Regions from separate parts of the Homo sapiens genome. Here regions 2, 3, 4 and 5 are each linked to region 1. Evidence: promoter capture Hi-C in human tissues and cell types (Jung and others, 2019). All regions are on one chromosome and are shown on one strand. Each heading gives the region's core, a stretch centred on a gene start or on the middle of the fragment in contact. The rest is flanking DNA. Distances are from core to core; before and after follow the strand shown. Region 1 holds the start of THBS2 (thrombospondin 2). Region 2 has its middle 130 kb from the start of LINC01615. Region 3 has its middle 66 kb from the start of LINC02519. Region 4 overlaps LOC102724357 (a long non-coding RNA gene). Region 5 has its middle 61 kb from the start of LINC01615.

Evidence for each region. The method cuts DNA at HindIII sites, captures the fragments that hold promoters and counts their contacts. A contact is called where the count stands out against the background at its distance.
Region 2: a contact is called between a fragment that was not itself captured here and the fragment with the promoter of THBS2 in region 1, in 5 of the 25 tissues and cell types used here (H1 embryonic stem cells, aorta, bladder and 2 more).
Region 3: a fragment that was not itself captured here is called in contact with the fragment with the promoter of THBS2 in region 1 in 1 of the 25 tissues and cell types used here (IMR-90 fibroblasts).
Region 4: a contact is called between a fragment that was not itself captured here and the fragment with the promoter of THBS2 in region 1, in 1 of the 25 tissues and cell types used here (mesendoderm cells).
Region 5: a contact is called between a fragment that was not itself captured here and the fragment with the promoter of THBS2 in region 1, in 2 of the 25 tissues and cell types used here (H1 embryonic stem cells and IMR-90 fibroblasts).

What each region holds. Positions count from the first base shown.
Region 1 is chr6:169,252,415-169,255,202 of GRCh38, reverse strand. THBS2 (thrombospondin 2) reads left to right here and starts at 1,357. Exons shown (of 22, transcript NM_003247.5): 1 at 1,357-1,479. RefSeq lists enhancers at 1,771-2,282, 2,283-2,788. The HindIII fragment of the contact is 15,923 bases long and covers 1-2,788 here.
Region 2 is chr6:169,031,078-169,033,865 of GRCh38, reverse strand. No RefSeq gene overlaps it. Among named protein-coding and RNA genes, the nearest start is that of LINC01615, 130 kb to the left of the region's middle. The HindIII fragment of the contact is 5,289 bases long and covers 1-2,788 here.
Region 3 is chr6:169,453,030-169,455,817 of GRCh38, reverse strand. It overlaps a transcript of WDR27 not described here. Among named protein-coding and RNA genes, the nearest start is that of LINC02519, 66 kb to the right of the region's middle. The HindIII fragment of the contact is 5,881 bases long and covers 1-2,788 here.
Region 4 is chr6:169,068,046-169,070,833 of GRCh38, reverse strand. It overlaps LOC102724357 (a long non-coding RNA gene), which reads right to left. Exons shown (of 2, transcript NR_134619.1): 2 at 1,410-1,645. Among named protein-coding and RNA genes, the nearest start is that of LINC01615, 94 kb to the left of the region's middle. RefSeq lists an enhancer at 1-1,020. The HindIII fragment of the contact is 4,836 bases long and covers 1-2,788 here.
Region 5 is chr6:169,100,592-169,103,379 of GRCh38, reverse strand. No RefSeq gene overlaps it. Among named protein-coding and RNA genes, the nearest start is that of LINC01615, 61 kb to the left of the region's middle. The HindIII fragment of the contact is 7,926 bases long and covers 1-2,788 here.

The DNA of each region.
Region 1 (2,788 bases), core at 108-2,607:
CAGGCTGACAACTCCACACAAACGTGAAGGAACCTGACAGGCAGGTGCCGACATGAAGCAGGTGCAGGTGGCTCCGGGCAAAGCAGCAGCTCCCCAGTCACCATCCACCCCACCTGGGGAAGTAGCACCTCCCCCATCCAAGGTCCACCCCAACCCAGGAGAAGCAGCAGCTCCCCTGTCTGCCATTAACCCTGACCTGGGAGAAACAACACATCCCCAGCCACCTTGCACACTGACCTGGGAGAAACAGCCTCTCCACCATCCACCTTTCACACTGGCCTGGGAGAAGTGGCACCTCCCCCATCCACTGTCCAGCCCAACTTGGGAGAAGCAGCCCCTCCCCCATGTACCATCAACCCCCACCTTAGAGCAGCAGCTTCCCCTTTCCACTGTATACCCTGACCTGGGAGAAGCAGCCCCTCCGCATCCATCGTCCACCCTGACCTCTGAGAAGCGGTGCCCCCCACCCCCATGCAGAGTGCACCCTGATTGCGGGTGATGCCTGAGGTGTGGGAGGGGCGGGGGTTAGCTGCTGCCACTGCTTCTCGTTCTCTCGAGTCCTTGCTCTGTGCCTGCACGTCAGGTTGTTCCTGTGATGGGGCCACGTGCAAGTGTGCACCAAGGGGACTTGGCCGGGTACTGTACGTCCACTGGGACACACCCTTCTACGGGTATTGCACGTCCACTGGGAGACGTCCTTCTAGGGGATCCTCACTGAGCAAATGAAGCAGAATTTGGGTAAAAATGAATTTTCCCAAAGCTGCAGTACAGCTTTTCAGTCCTCTAACTGCCTGAGATAAATGTTGGCAACTTCCTTTTATATTAAATTTCATTTTTGTCACATAATACACTTGATTATTGACCATAATAACTTTATTAATATACAGACTGATTATTGATACTCACCGATGTATTTCATGTGTTATTGAGAGTCACTCATTTGGTTTAGAAAGACCAATATCACATTGAGTAATTCGAAACATATTTAAGGCATAGAACTTGCATTTTTTTCTCTTAAGCAAAATGAGGAGTTCTAGCCAATCTTGCTAGTGTTATTTATAGCATCTTATTTCCTGAGAGAAGACAGGAAAAGTGAGTCCCTGCCTTCCCTCTCTCCGTCTGGCTCCTCCCAGGCCTGTCTGGCAGGGGCCGGGGTGCAGGAGGAGGAGACGGCATCCAGTACAGAGGGGCTGGACTTGGACCCCTGCAGCAGGTACTCGGAGCAAATGGTGAGATCAGAAGGGGGATGATGTCATTCCTTCGAAGGAATGAATTAAACGTGCTTCCTCGTGTGTCTGATTGACAGCCCTGCACAGGAGAAGCGGCATATAAAGCCGCGCTGCCCGGGAGCCGCTCGGCCACGTCCACCGGAGCATCCTGCACTGCAGGGCCGGTCTCTCGCTCCAGCAGAGCCTGCGCCTTTCTGACTCGGTCCGGAACACTGAAACCAGTCATCACTGCATCTTTTTGGCAAACCAGGTACGATTATTTCTTAAACTCAATCAATTATTTAATGGTGCTCTAATTTTAAGAAATTAGAGTTCTCGAACTCTAAGAAGCGGAGAAGAAAAAGGAGCAATTTCGATTCTTAACTTAAGGTGGGTGGTGTATCTATTAACACTAAATGGCAAGTGTTTCTTCACGTGGTGTTTCTACTGCCCGCTTGAAGAGCAAGGCACGTGGCCGCTCCTCAGCTTTTCCTCCGTGGCTGTGCTTTCACCAGCCGGGCACCCCTTCCTCTCTGAGGGTTGTGGCTGCTGCTATTTCAATGTATATACCTGCCTGGGAACCCGGGTAAACGCTTTATGTTTTCAGTTTCCGAAGAAGAAGATTCCACATGAGAGTTTGTTATTGAGGAGAGAATTAGAAACAACTCCCGGAATATCTGAAAAGTAACTGGAGATTAGAGAGAGACTCTGATTGTTAACATCATTATTAGTAGATTAGAGAGAGACTCTGATCGTTAACATTATTAGTAGATTAAAGAGAGACTCTGATTGTTAACATTATTAGTAGATTAAAGAGAGACTCTGATTGTTAACATTATTAGCAGCTGAAAAGTGGTTTTGAACATAACTAGAGAGTATTTGTGGTAAGTCTATGGAAAATCCTGTGACTGCCGGGACACACAGCGACTTTTAACAGTCTTGGGGCAGTTTGCATATGAAAAGCGAGCTGGCAGGTTGCCTGGCTACCACTTAAGGAAGGTGGGTTTGGCTGCCCAGGACTGGGAGCTGAGCACCCAGGAGTCTGGTGTTTAATCAGACTGCTGTTGGTGGTGGACGGCCGGTAAACAATTAGCTCTCTGCAAAGCTATCTTTTACTTTGATTGTTCATACGAAAAGAGTTTTAAAAGACCTTTGCAAATTCAAACTACATTCTGCTGCAGACAGGCACCGAAATCTTTCTTTTGGAAAAACACAAGCATAAACGTGGATGTGTGGCGTGCAGAGGCTGGGGCAGGGGTGAGCGGCACTGGCTCATCCGTGGCTCCATCCATGCATGCCCGGTGTCCCTGGATGGGCTGAGGCCAGGTAGCCTGGCTGCTCATCCTTCCTGTGGGATGGAGCCTCACTGTCCTTTGACAATCCGCAGCAGGGGATGCTTTGTTAGCCTCCTGCTCTTGTAAGAATCTACCTCAAGGCAGAGACAGTAGGATCTGGTTTCGTCAAAGGAGTTTGATTTAGTTTTTCTAACCTGTCCTTATGAAGCTGGGCATCCAGAACTTTCGCATTTACCATCCTGTTCTTGGCTGGCCTCTGCAGGGCCAGCCCCACACAGCTGTCCT
Region 2 (2,788 bases), core at 186-2,685, 220 kb after region 1:
TTAGTCTCTGTTGCTGCCCCCAGGCTACACATCAGATGAGTGCCCTTGACCTTGAAGGATGGGAAGACCACAGCAGTTGAGCTTCAATGACCCCCATTGCCACTTCACTCTCCAAGCTGGCCATTGCTTTTCATAAAGCACCGCAAAACTTAGTGTCTTTAAAAACAACACTAAATCACATTGTTCTCAAATCGAGCGTTCTTAGGGTTCAGGTCATCAGCTCACCCCAGGGGAATGTTGGACAACTGAGTCTGCAGCCATCTGTACAATGATGAAACCAAGGTTGAGCATCTTGGGAGGAGTGTGGGGTAGAAAGGTAAAACACAGTTCCTGGTTGGATTAAGGAAGGCACACGGTGACAGGATTTGGCAGCCCACTGGGGATGTCTGGCCATGTCTAAGGTTTGGAAGATGACAATTCTTTTTTTTTTTTTTAGAGTATTTTATTTTATTTTATTTTATTTTTCAGTAACTTCTTTTTTTAAATTAATTAATTTATTATTATACTTTAAGTTTTAGGGTACATGTGCACATTGTGCAGGTTAGTTACATATGTATACATGTGCCATGCTGGTGTGCTGCACCCACTAACTCGTCATCTAGCATTAGGTATATCTCCCAATGCTATCCCTCCCCCCTCCCCCCACCCCACAACAGTCCCCAGAGTGTGATATTCCCCTTCCTGTGTCCATGTGATCTCATTGTTCAATTCCCACCTATGAGTGAGAATATGCGGTGTTTGGTTTTTTGTTCTTGTGATAGTTTACTGAGAATGATGATTTCCAATTTCATCCATGTCCCTACAAAGGACATGAACTCATCATTTTTTATGGCTGCAGAGTATTCCATGGTGTATATGTGCCACATTTTCTTAATCCAGTCTGTCATTGTTGGACATTTGGGTTGGTTCCAAGTCTTTGCTATTGTGAATAATGCCACAATAAACATACGTGTGCATGTGTCTTTATAGCAGCATGATTTATAGTCCTTTGGGTATATACCCAGTAATGGGATGGCTGGGTCAAATGGTATTTCTAGTTCTAGATCCCTGAGGAATCGCCACACTGACTTCCACAATGGTTGAACTAGTTTACCGTCTCACCAACAGTGCAAAAGTGTTCCTATTTCTCCACATCCTCTCCAGCACCTGTTGTTTCCTGACTTTTTAATGATTGCCATTCTAATTGGTGTGAGATGGCCACACATCTCATTGTGGTTTTGATTTGCATTTCTCTGATGGCCAGTGATGATGAGCATTTTTTCATGTGTTTTTTGGCTGCATAAATGTCTTCTTTTGAGAAGTGTCTGTTCATGTCCTTCGCCGACTTTTTGATGGGGTTGTTTTTTTTTTTCTTGTAAATTTGTTTGAGTTCATTGTAGATTCTGGATATTAGCCCTTTGTCAGATGAGTAGGTTGTGAAAATTTTCTCCCATTTTGTGGGTTGCCTGTTCACTCTGATGGTAGTTTCCAATAGATGCAGAAAAAGCCTTTGACAAAATTCAACAACCCTTCATGCTAAAAATTCTCAATAAATTAGGTGTTGATGGGACGTATCTCAAAATAATAAGAGCTATCTATGACAAACCCACAGCCAATATCATACTGAATGGGCAAAAACCGGAAGCATTCCCTTTGAAAACTGGCACAAGATAGGGATGCCCTCTCTCACCACTCCTATTCAACATAGCGTTGGAAGTTCTGGCCAGGGCAATTAGGCAAGAGAAGGAAATAAAGGGTATTCAATTAGGAAAAGAGGAAGTCAAATTGTCCCTGTTTGCAGATGACATGATTGTATATCTAGAAAACCCCACTGTCTCAGCCCAAAATCTCCTTAAGCTGATAAGCAACTTCAGCAAAGTCTCAGGATACAAAATCAATGTACAAAAATCACAAGCATTCTTATACACCAACAACAGACAAACAGAGAGCCAAATCATGAGTGAACTCCCATTCACAATTGCTTCAAAGAGAATAACATACCTAGGAATCCAACTTACAAGGGATGCGAAGGACCTCTTCAAGGAGAACTATAAACCACTGCTCAAGGAAATAAAAGAGGATACAAACAAATGGAAGAACATTCCATGCTCATGGGTAGGAAGAATCAATATCGTGAAAATGGCCATACTGCCCAAGGTAATTTACAGATTCAGTGCCATCCCCATCAAGCTACCAATGCCTTTCTTCACAGAATTGGGAAGATGACAATTCTAATCGCCCCAGACTGGGGAACTCAATATTTACCTAAGTGTTTTTCAATCAGCTCTGGCTCTGTTGCAGGGAGCGGTGATGCTGAGGAAGTCAGAGGCAGGGGAGATAAGTGTCGGTGGAAAGGAGCATTTTGAGCAGGACTGTGCTTCTGGGTGCTGCACAGTGTGCTAGGTCTGAACTCATGATCCATGAGACAAAACGGGGAGGGCAACATGAATTCGCTCAGGCATACTTCCCTTCAGCCACAGGGCAGGAGGGTGAAGAAACCCAGGGAGGTGCACAAAGTCACTCCTGCACATGCAGACACAGGGAACAGCACCAAAGCAGAAACCACTTCTTGCCGACAGAAGAGGCATTTTCCCCTGCATGGCAGCTTATTCTTTACACAGGCACAGAACTTATTTAGACATCTGCCACATTTGGACTTCAAACTCAGCTATTTTACCAGAGATGTTTAAATTAGGAAAAGCCATGATCTATTCGAGCTTGGGACAAAAATAGCATTTGCTGTATTTGCAGATTTCTCCAGCCAATTTAATGATTGTCTTTGCAGTCAGGTGTATGTCCCAGGACTTTT
Region 3 (2,788 bases), core at 197-2,696, 200 kb before region 1:
ACTGCTAGGAAGAGAGCTGTGTCAGGTTGCAGCATAAGAATAGCAGTATAAGTCCTCTGCCCATGAAGACTTTCTAGGAAGACAGCAGCCAGGAAAGCAGAGAACAAAGCCAGGGGGCATGGAGGGCAGGGCTCTGGTGTGGCCTCTGGCCTGGGGTGAAGGACTTGGCCACTGTAGACTCAAGAGGCTTCCCTGCCTGGTTCCGATCAGCAGTGCTCCCCACACCACTCAGAGGAGGAGTAGGTGGTGCTGTGAGTGGATGCCTTAGAGATCTGCCTTTCTAATGGTGGGATGTATCATGTTTATTTTTTATCTGTACTATTCTATCCATAATGAAATGTTCTGAAGTAGTGAACAGTGTGTTGTAACGTAAAACTGGTTGGTTGCTCTGCCTTCATCAAAAGGTAGTAATAAAAATAACATGTTTATGTAGAGCTTTTTAGTTTTCACTTGATTCCAATTCATCGTCTCATTGTTCTAATAGACCTGTGTGTTTGATAGGCATTGTTGTTATTCTTAGCCTCACTTTCCAAATACTTATCAAGAGCTGTGCCACAGAGAGAAGCCATGACATTCTGTCTTGGAAAATCCATTTAAAGGCATACTGCTCCCGTGCAAAGTCTGTCGACTTGATCAGGCTGAGAGGCCCTGGCCTTTTCCAAGGTCTGTGTGACGAGGACTGAGCCAGGCTTTCCAGCTGCACCTCACGCAGGACAGAGCAGCCAGGGTGTCCGGGAGGGCTCAGCTGCAGGCCAGGGCGCTCAGGTCTCAAGGAAAGTCCAGGTTCAGACACTAGGCCGGGTCGCCTGGTACCAGAGCCCGCAGTCTTTGCTCACCCATGCCCCAGGACAGCTTTCTTGATCTGTGGTGGTCCTGCTTCACCAACCGAGTGGACACAGGCTGGTGAGGAGCCCACGGCTGGGCACACACCTGTGGACAAGTGCTGTCCACCTGCAGCCCTGGCAGCCCAGCCATGGATGTGCAGGGGAGGAAGGATGAGCCCCGGCTCTGTCTAGCCTGCTGTCTCCGTGATTACAGGCTGTGAAGATTCCTTCTGGTGCTTGCGTGATAAGATGATTCATATCATGTGGCACATGTCATGGGGCTTGCACAACTTTGGCAAGTCCATGTTCTTTAGACAACAAAGCAAGAATGTGATCGTGGTCCCAAGTCTGGCCACCAAGGGGGGTGGTCTGAACATGCTGGAATAAACAATATCTGTTCGTTTTTGACATTCTGTTTAAGGCATTCTTTGCAGATGTGGGAGCTCATTCTTTTTCCTTAGCTTAAAGAAAACTGTGTGTATTTCAGACTTATTGAAGGAGGACGCCTGGGTGTTTTCAGAGTAAAGGTGCTGTTATCACTGTTTGGCAAATGATTGGCTACTTAATGGAGAAAAAGATAACCTGTGTGAGTCATGTACCCACATGCAGGTCAAGCAGCCTGGAGGAACCAGGTGGCAGCACCAACTCACCGTTTGACAGGACCACCAAGAAATCTTTCTCAGATACCTAGCAGATATCTCCGTGGTGATAAGACTAGACTGAGCCATACCCAATGACCAACATGCAAATGGTTTTGAATAGCAATTTCATATAGCTCACACAAATATGTTTTTCCAAAAAGGGAGCAGAATATAAAATCCTGCCTCCTCTCTTTTATTTCTCTCATTTCTTTTCTCCTTTCTGACAAAAATTTATTTAGTGCCAACTTTGATTCAGGTCGTCATTAGGAATAATGTAATCAATTTCTTTTTTTCTGTATGTTCCCAACTTAATTTTATTTTTACTGTTATTGTAGCATTAACATACTCTCAGAACACACTGCAGCTGCCAACCCAAAAGAGATGGTTCATGAAAGTATTGTGCACCATGGAGAGCTAATCCAAATTTTATTTTTTTGTCTGAGATAGTTCTCCAGTGGACAGCTGACAGTTAATGTTGGTGATCTGCTTTGTGTTTAGGTTATAAGTCCCTTGGGGTGTGAAATTACCTTAAGCTATGAAATTATCTTACATTTAATGAGCCCAAATTCTTACTAATCTGTATCATATTCAGTAACGTATTTGGACTTTTCAACAGAGAATTTAAGAAATGATACAATTTAATGCCTATTTTTGTCACATAAGAGGCCAAAGATTCCAGATGGTTAACATTTTAATTGAAGTTAACATGGAAGATAAATGAAACAAGCTTGACTGGTCAGTAGAAATTAGGTTCTCTGCAATTTTGAAGGTGAAGAGAAAATTGAACTGTCACTAACATGAGGACTTCAAAAGGAATAGTGGGACAACCCAGGAGAGAAAGCGTGGGACTCCCAGAGATGGAGGCTGAGGCAATGTGTCCCAGCATGTGAGCGGCAGGCTTGGATGTGGATTCCCTCCATGTAGCAACAGCACGAACCAGCCCTAGACTTACTCTTTTTTTTTTCCCAACGGATGACCTGGACATTCTGAAGTTGCATTAATAGCAAGTTTATATTCCTAATATAAATACATCTCCTCTGAGTCTTGGAAAATGGGATCAACTTAATTGTCTCCACATGTATGCTCTGGGGAGCCTGGTCCTCACTGAACCCCAGTTACAAAACCTACAGCAAATTTTTGTCCAGATCACTGTCCATCCAGCTTGCCGTGTTCTGGAGGAAGATGTTTTGTTTTATAGTTTGTGCTATAGTCATGAGAACAAGCAGCTTGTGTTCTATATCTTCTTACTTTTTGAAGCAAGTGTGCTGGGTACTGTTCACGCTGATCAGCCCTAGGCCTGGGGGCCGTGCCCTTGCAGCCACT
Region 4 (2,788 bases), core at 122-2,621, 180 kb after region 1:
TAAAACCATCTTCTCCCTCAGGCTGATTCATTCGGTCATAACCCAGCAGCCCATGAGTCTCTAAGCACCTACTGTTGGTGGAGCCTGAAGCTGTATCATGCGCCTCGAGGGGCTGACTCACAGCCCAGGGCTCAGCCGTTCACAGCGACCTCAGCGTGACTCACGCTCAGGACCCAGGTCCTGTCCAAAGTTATTAAAGCTGCACTCAGGCCCTCTGTGCCTCTGACTATCGCGTTCCTTCACAATTATTAGCAGAGAACCCCTCCTGGTGAGAGCAGGCTGAAATATCTGAAATTCATTTTCTTTTAAGGGACTCCAGTTTGGCACATAAATTTCCCCTCTTTGCTCTCCCCAGAAAACACACTGTGAATCTGGCATTTCTTTTTCATCATGCTAAGAACACATGGGAACGTCATAGTTTTAATTTACTGTATTGCATGTATTTAAGGTGTGTGACACGCTGTTTGGATCCAGTGATCTGGTCATGCACACTCATAGGGAAGCAAGGACTACAGTCAAGCCAATTAATGCGGACATCATTTCACACAGTTGCTGTGTGTGTGCGGGCATGGTAAGTGTATCAGTCAGGGTTCTCTAGAGGTACAGAGCTAATGCAATAGATGTATATGTAAAAGAGGAGTTTATTAAGTATTAACTCACCCAATCACAGGGTCCCACAATAGGCGGTCTGCAGGCTGAGGAGCAAGGAGAGCCAGGCCAAGTTCCAAAAATGAAGAATTTGGATTCTGATGTTCAAGGGCAAGAAGCATCCAGCACAGGAGAAAGATGTAGGCTGGGAGGCTAGGCCAGCCTCTCGTTTCAAGTTTTTCTGCCTGCTTTATATTCACTGGCAGCTGATTAGATGGTGCCCACTCAGATTAAGGGTGGGTCTGCCTTTCCCAGACAACTGACTCAAATGTGGATCTCCCTTGGCAACACCCTCACAGACAAACCCAGGATCAATACTTTGTATCCTTCAATCCAATCAAGTTGACACTCAGTATTAACCATCACAGTAAGGTAACCTAAAATTTACTCTCTTGGCAAATTACCAGTGTAAGGAGCAGGAATGAACACCTGGGAAATGGGAGGTTGTAGGTCAAACAGTACAGTTTCAGCTTTGTAGGATAAGTCTAGAGATCTAATGTAGAGCAGAGAAAACACATATGTGTTAAGGGTTTCAAGGAGAACGCTAGGAGCTCCCAGAAAGCCAGAGGTTTGTCTCTTTGGCCACCCACTCATGCAAGACGCATCCCCTGCTCTTGTTGTCAAGGTGACGCTGACGCAGATGGACATTGGAGTAATGAGGTCAGAAGCATAGCCTCAAACTAAAGAATGCAATCAACCAGCCAAAAGGCAAGAATTACCTTAAAATAACATAACAATCACAATAAGAAGCATGGCCGTTCTAAGGATATTCCTCGGAGCAAGCATGTTTAATGGAGCTTCATTCTAAACATTGCCCGAAATGAGAACACGAGTTCTCACCAATAGTGAACAGTAAGTCATGTGTGTGTAATTCTTGCCTATAATGCCAGCAGTCAAATCTGAAGCTTCCTGAATACTTCCTTTGGTTTCCTTGCTCCAGGTTCCTCCGGGTTAGTGGAAGCCAAAATGGGTGGCCTCATCCTGGAGATGTATTCACCTACACAAGCGAACACAAATAGTATTTCACTTCCTATCAGTTTCTGCACGGTCCTCTGAGAACTACCAGACAATGGGCAGTAGCTCAGTGGATACACAATCCACTCAGGACTTCCAGATCACTTAAAAACTGGGGCCCGGTAACAAGGAAGTCTGAATTAGCCCTATTTTCCAGTGTTAACACACCACCCTCACGCAAATGCTAGGTGCACATCAAAAAGATACCCTTGATTTTTAAAAATGACTTATCCGTGTAAGTGATAAAAATGAGAAGTCAATGGACTATGGTGTAACTATTTTTAAACCCTTTGCCTGTCTCATGTGCAAAAGCCAATTCAGATAAAAAAGTATGGAATTTAGTCAAAAATAATGTCTGGCGGCCATGGATGGCAGAAGCCGTTTTAGAGGCTGGGACCCTGGACGCCTGAACATGGAGGCTTTGACGTCTCCCCGTACCACCAGCCTCTGCCAAGAGTTGTCTTTGGAGGACAACCTCACTCAAGATAATCTTTCCTTTCTCTTCTGAATCTGGTTTTGTACTTTTTTGGTTTTCCCTCTCAGCTTCCCTCAAAGAACATGGTGATTTTTCTAGATTTATCTAGGGAAGAAAAACAGCAGATTTAAATAGCCATTGTAGCAGCAATGCCATTTTGGCTGCGTTTATGACAAGCAAGTGATCCGTGGTGCTGTTTACTTGGTCTGACATTTTGGTTCTTTGGTGAAAGTGTCTTATAAAATGGGGGTTGGAACTGCCTGAGTCAGTGGACAAAGGAAATCAGATTTATAGGGAGGTGAAAATGAGCCTTCTGAAGTTAGCCTCGTGAGTAGGTTTTGCGTAGATACCTACAGATTATGCTGAAACAATACAAACTTTTTTTTTTTTTACTTACCAAGGTAGAAGACAGGTCTTAAGTATTTTGCAAAATCAATTCAGAATATCATTGTAGGATAAAAATATAAGTAATTATGTTAATTTTGTGTAGGAAATGAGCTTTTAATGAAAGAACAGAAATCTCATATGTGAACCAAATTGAGCAAAGGAATCTGTTTCTGTATTTCTATATTCTAATGTATGTTTTTATATTTCTATATTCTAATGTATGTTTTAACATACTCCATTGAAAGATTTCAGAGCAATAGCAAC
Region 5 (2,788 bases), core at 109-2,608, 150 kb after region 1:
CACCCAATCCACCTTCTGTTGCTTGTGTTTCCAAAGTGAGTTACATTTTCAAAGCCTTAGCTATTCTATTCAGGTCCTCCTGAAGTGTGCACCATGCTGGGCCAGCTGGGCCCTGGAGCATTCAATCCTGTCATTTGGTTCTAACAGCCTTCGCTGGGCTGCTTTGGGTCAGACCCAGGCATGCATAGCTTTGCAGTGAGCCCAGAACTTGCACATAGATTAAGGGGAGCCTTCTCCAGATATCTCCTCTCTGAGACTTTCCTCACACTCCATGGTGACTAGGGGCACGTTTTTCTTGTCCTCTTGTTAAAAGTCTGGGATCATCGCCTTTATGCACCATCACTGTTCTTATAAGATTTGAAGGACAAATCTCCCTTCATGTTCCAGGGGCTCATTGTCAAATTGTCACAGTTCCCAAGTTTACTCCAGTGAGAGAAACTTCTACCATGATTTTATAAAATAGTCTTTCACAGTCTCCTTAAAATCCTAATATCTTTACCTTATTATGCCAACTCAGATAATAAAAGGGACACAGGAAAGGTGTCTGGTGTTATCCAGCCCAAGATGCTTATCTTATCACAATTGACCAAACTAGACTACACCAAATCCCATGATGTGCCTCCAAAATTCTAAAAAACACATATATATTTGTATTTGTATGTACATGTGTATAATGTGAAAAATATAGGCTTTCATCTTTTCTTCTCAGAAGGGAAAGGTGTTTATATATTTTAAGTATTATAAACAAACAAAAAAACCAATATGTAAATACATGTTTATTCACAGCTGGTATTTCTTTTTTTTTTTTTGAGATGGAGTCTTGCTCTGTCACTCAGGCTATAGTGCAGTGGCATGATCTTGGCTCAGTGCAACCTCTGCCCTTTGGGTGCAAATGATTCTCCTGCATCAGCCTTCTGAGTAGCTAGGATTACAGGTGCCCGCCACCACACCTGGCTAATTTTTGTATTTTTAGTAGAGACAGCATTTCATCATGTTGGCCAGGCTGGTCTCAAACTCCTGACCTTAAGTGATCTGCCTGCCTCAGCCTCCCAAAAGGTTGGGATTACAGATGTGAGCCACCACACCCAGCCACAGCTGGTATTTCTGAAGTTTGTGTCAGCTGATGGAAGAGGAACAGTCTGGATGTGTTTTGCTGCCCTCTTTGCACTTAATGCTAATTTTAATTTTACATGACATTTGTATTAGTCATCCTATCCATTTCATTATTAAAATCCTCCTCTGCTGAGGTCACCCATTGATGAGCACTCACATGGGATCCAAATATCTTCCCAGTTTTTGATCACTCAGAGAGATCCATCCAAATACCTTTTCCCTAAATTTCTTTGTCACCAATTTTTCAATCATGCTTCTTCCAAGTCCCTGACCATCCAGCCAAACCATTGGCTATAGTCCATGGATCAGTACATAAGTCCAGTGTGTTTGCTACTTCTTGCTCACTGGGTCCAGTCAGCATAATGTCATCAATGTAACGGACCAGTGTGATATCCTGTGGAAGAGAAAAGTGATCACGAGCCCTGCAAACAAGATTATGACACAAAGTTGGAGAGTTGATATACCCATGAGGTAGGACAGTGAAGGTATATTGCTGGCCTTACCTGCTGAAGGCAAATGGCTTCTGGTGGGCCTTATGGACAGGAATGGAGAAATAAGCATTTGCCAAAGTAATGACTAAATACCAGGTACAGGAGATGTGTTAATTTGTTCCAGCAATGAAACTACATGTGGTACAGCAGCTGCACTTGGAGTCACCACTTGGATAAGCTTGCGATCATCCACTATCATTCTCCAAGATCTGTCTGTCTTCTGCACAGGCCAAATGGGAGAGTTCAACGGGGACATGGTGGGAATCACCACCTCTGTGTCTTTCAAGTCCTTGATGGTGGCGCTAATCTTTGCAATCCCTCCAGGGATATGATATTGTTTTTGATTTACTATTTTTCTAGGTAGAGGCAGCTCTAATGACTCTAATGGCTTCGTTTGGCCTTTCTCACCATAATAGCCCTCACTCTACCAGTCAGGGAGCCAATGTGGGGATTCTGTCAGCTGCTAAGTATATCTATGCCAATTATGCATTCTGGCACTCGGGAAATGACCACAGGATGAGTCTGGGAACTCACTGGACCCACTGTAAGTCAGAGCTGAGCTAAAACTCCATTAATTACCTGACCTCCATAAGCCTGTACTTTTAACTGGCAAACCACAATGACATTTTGGATCCCCTGGAATCAACATCAGCTCAGAGCCAGGGTCCAGTAGTCCCTGAGAGGTCTGATCATTTCTCTTTCCCCAGTGCATAGTTACCCTGATAAAAGACCAAGGTACGATGGGAGAAAAATTAACAGTATAAATTGTCAGTAGTGTAGCAGGGTCCTTCCTCAAGGGGACCTGGCCTCTCCTTCATTCAAAAGGTTCTGGGTCTGAAAACTGGTTCAAGTCTGGAAATAGATTGAGGGGCCATGATTCTCTATTTTTATAATTCAAATTAGTCTTTTGTTTACTCAACCTGGAAGTTTTCTGCTTATACAAATTAAGTAGGAATTAAGGCTTCCTATCAATTTTACTTCTAAGAATACTGTGATTAATTAGTCAATGCCAGAGTTCTACATGAATTAGACTATTCTGATTGCTGCTTTGTCTCTGCTGTCCATTATAGTAGCTACACCCACCTTGCCTTTGATGGTTGAGTGCCACCACTTGGCCCCTGCCATCTTGGGATCCAATTATTCACACTGTGTTTAAGTTTTCTAATTGAGTGACTGTGGTTCCC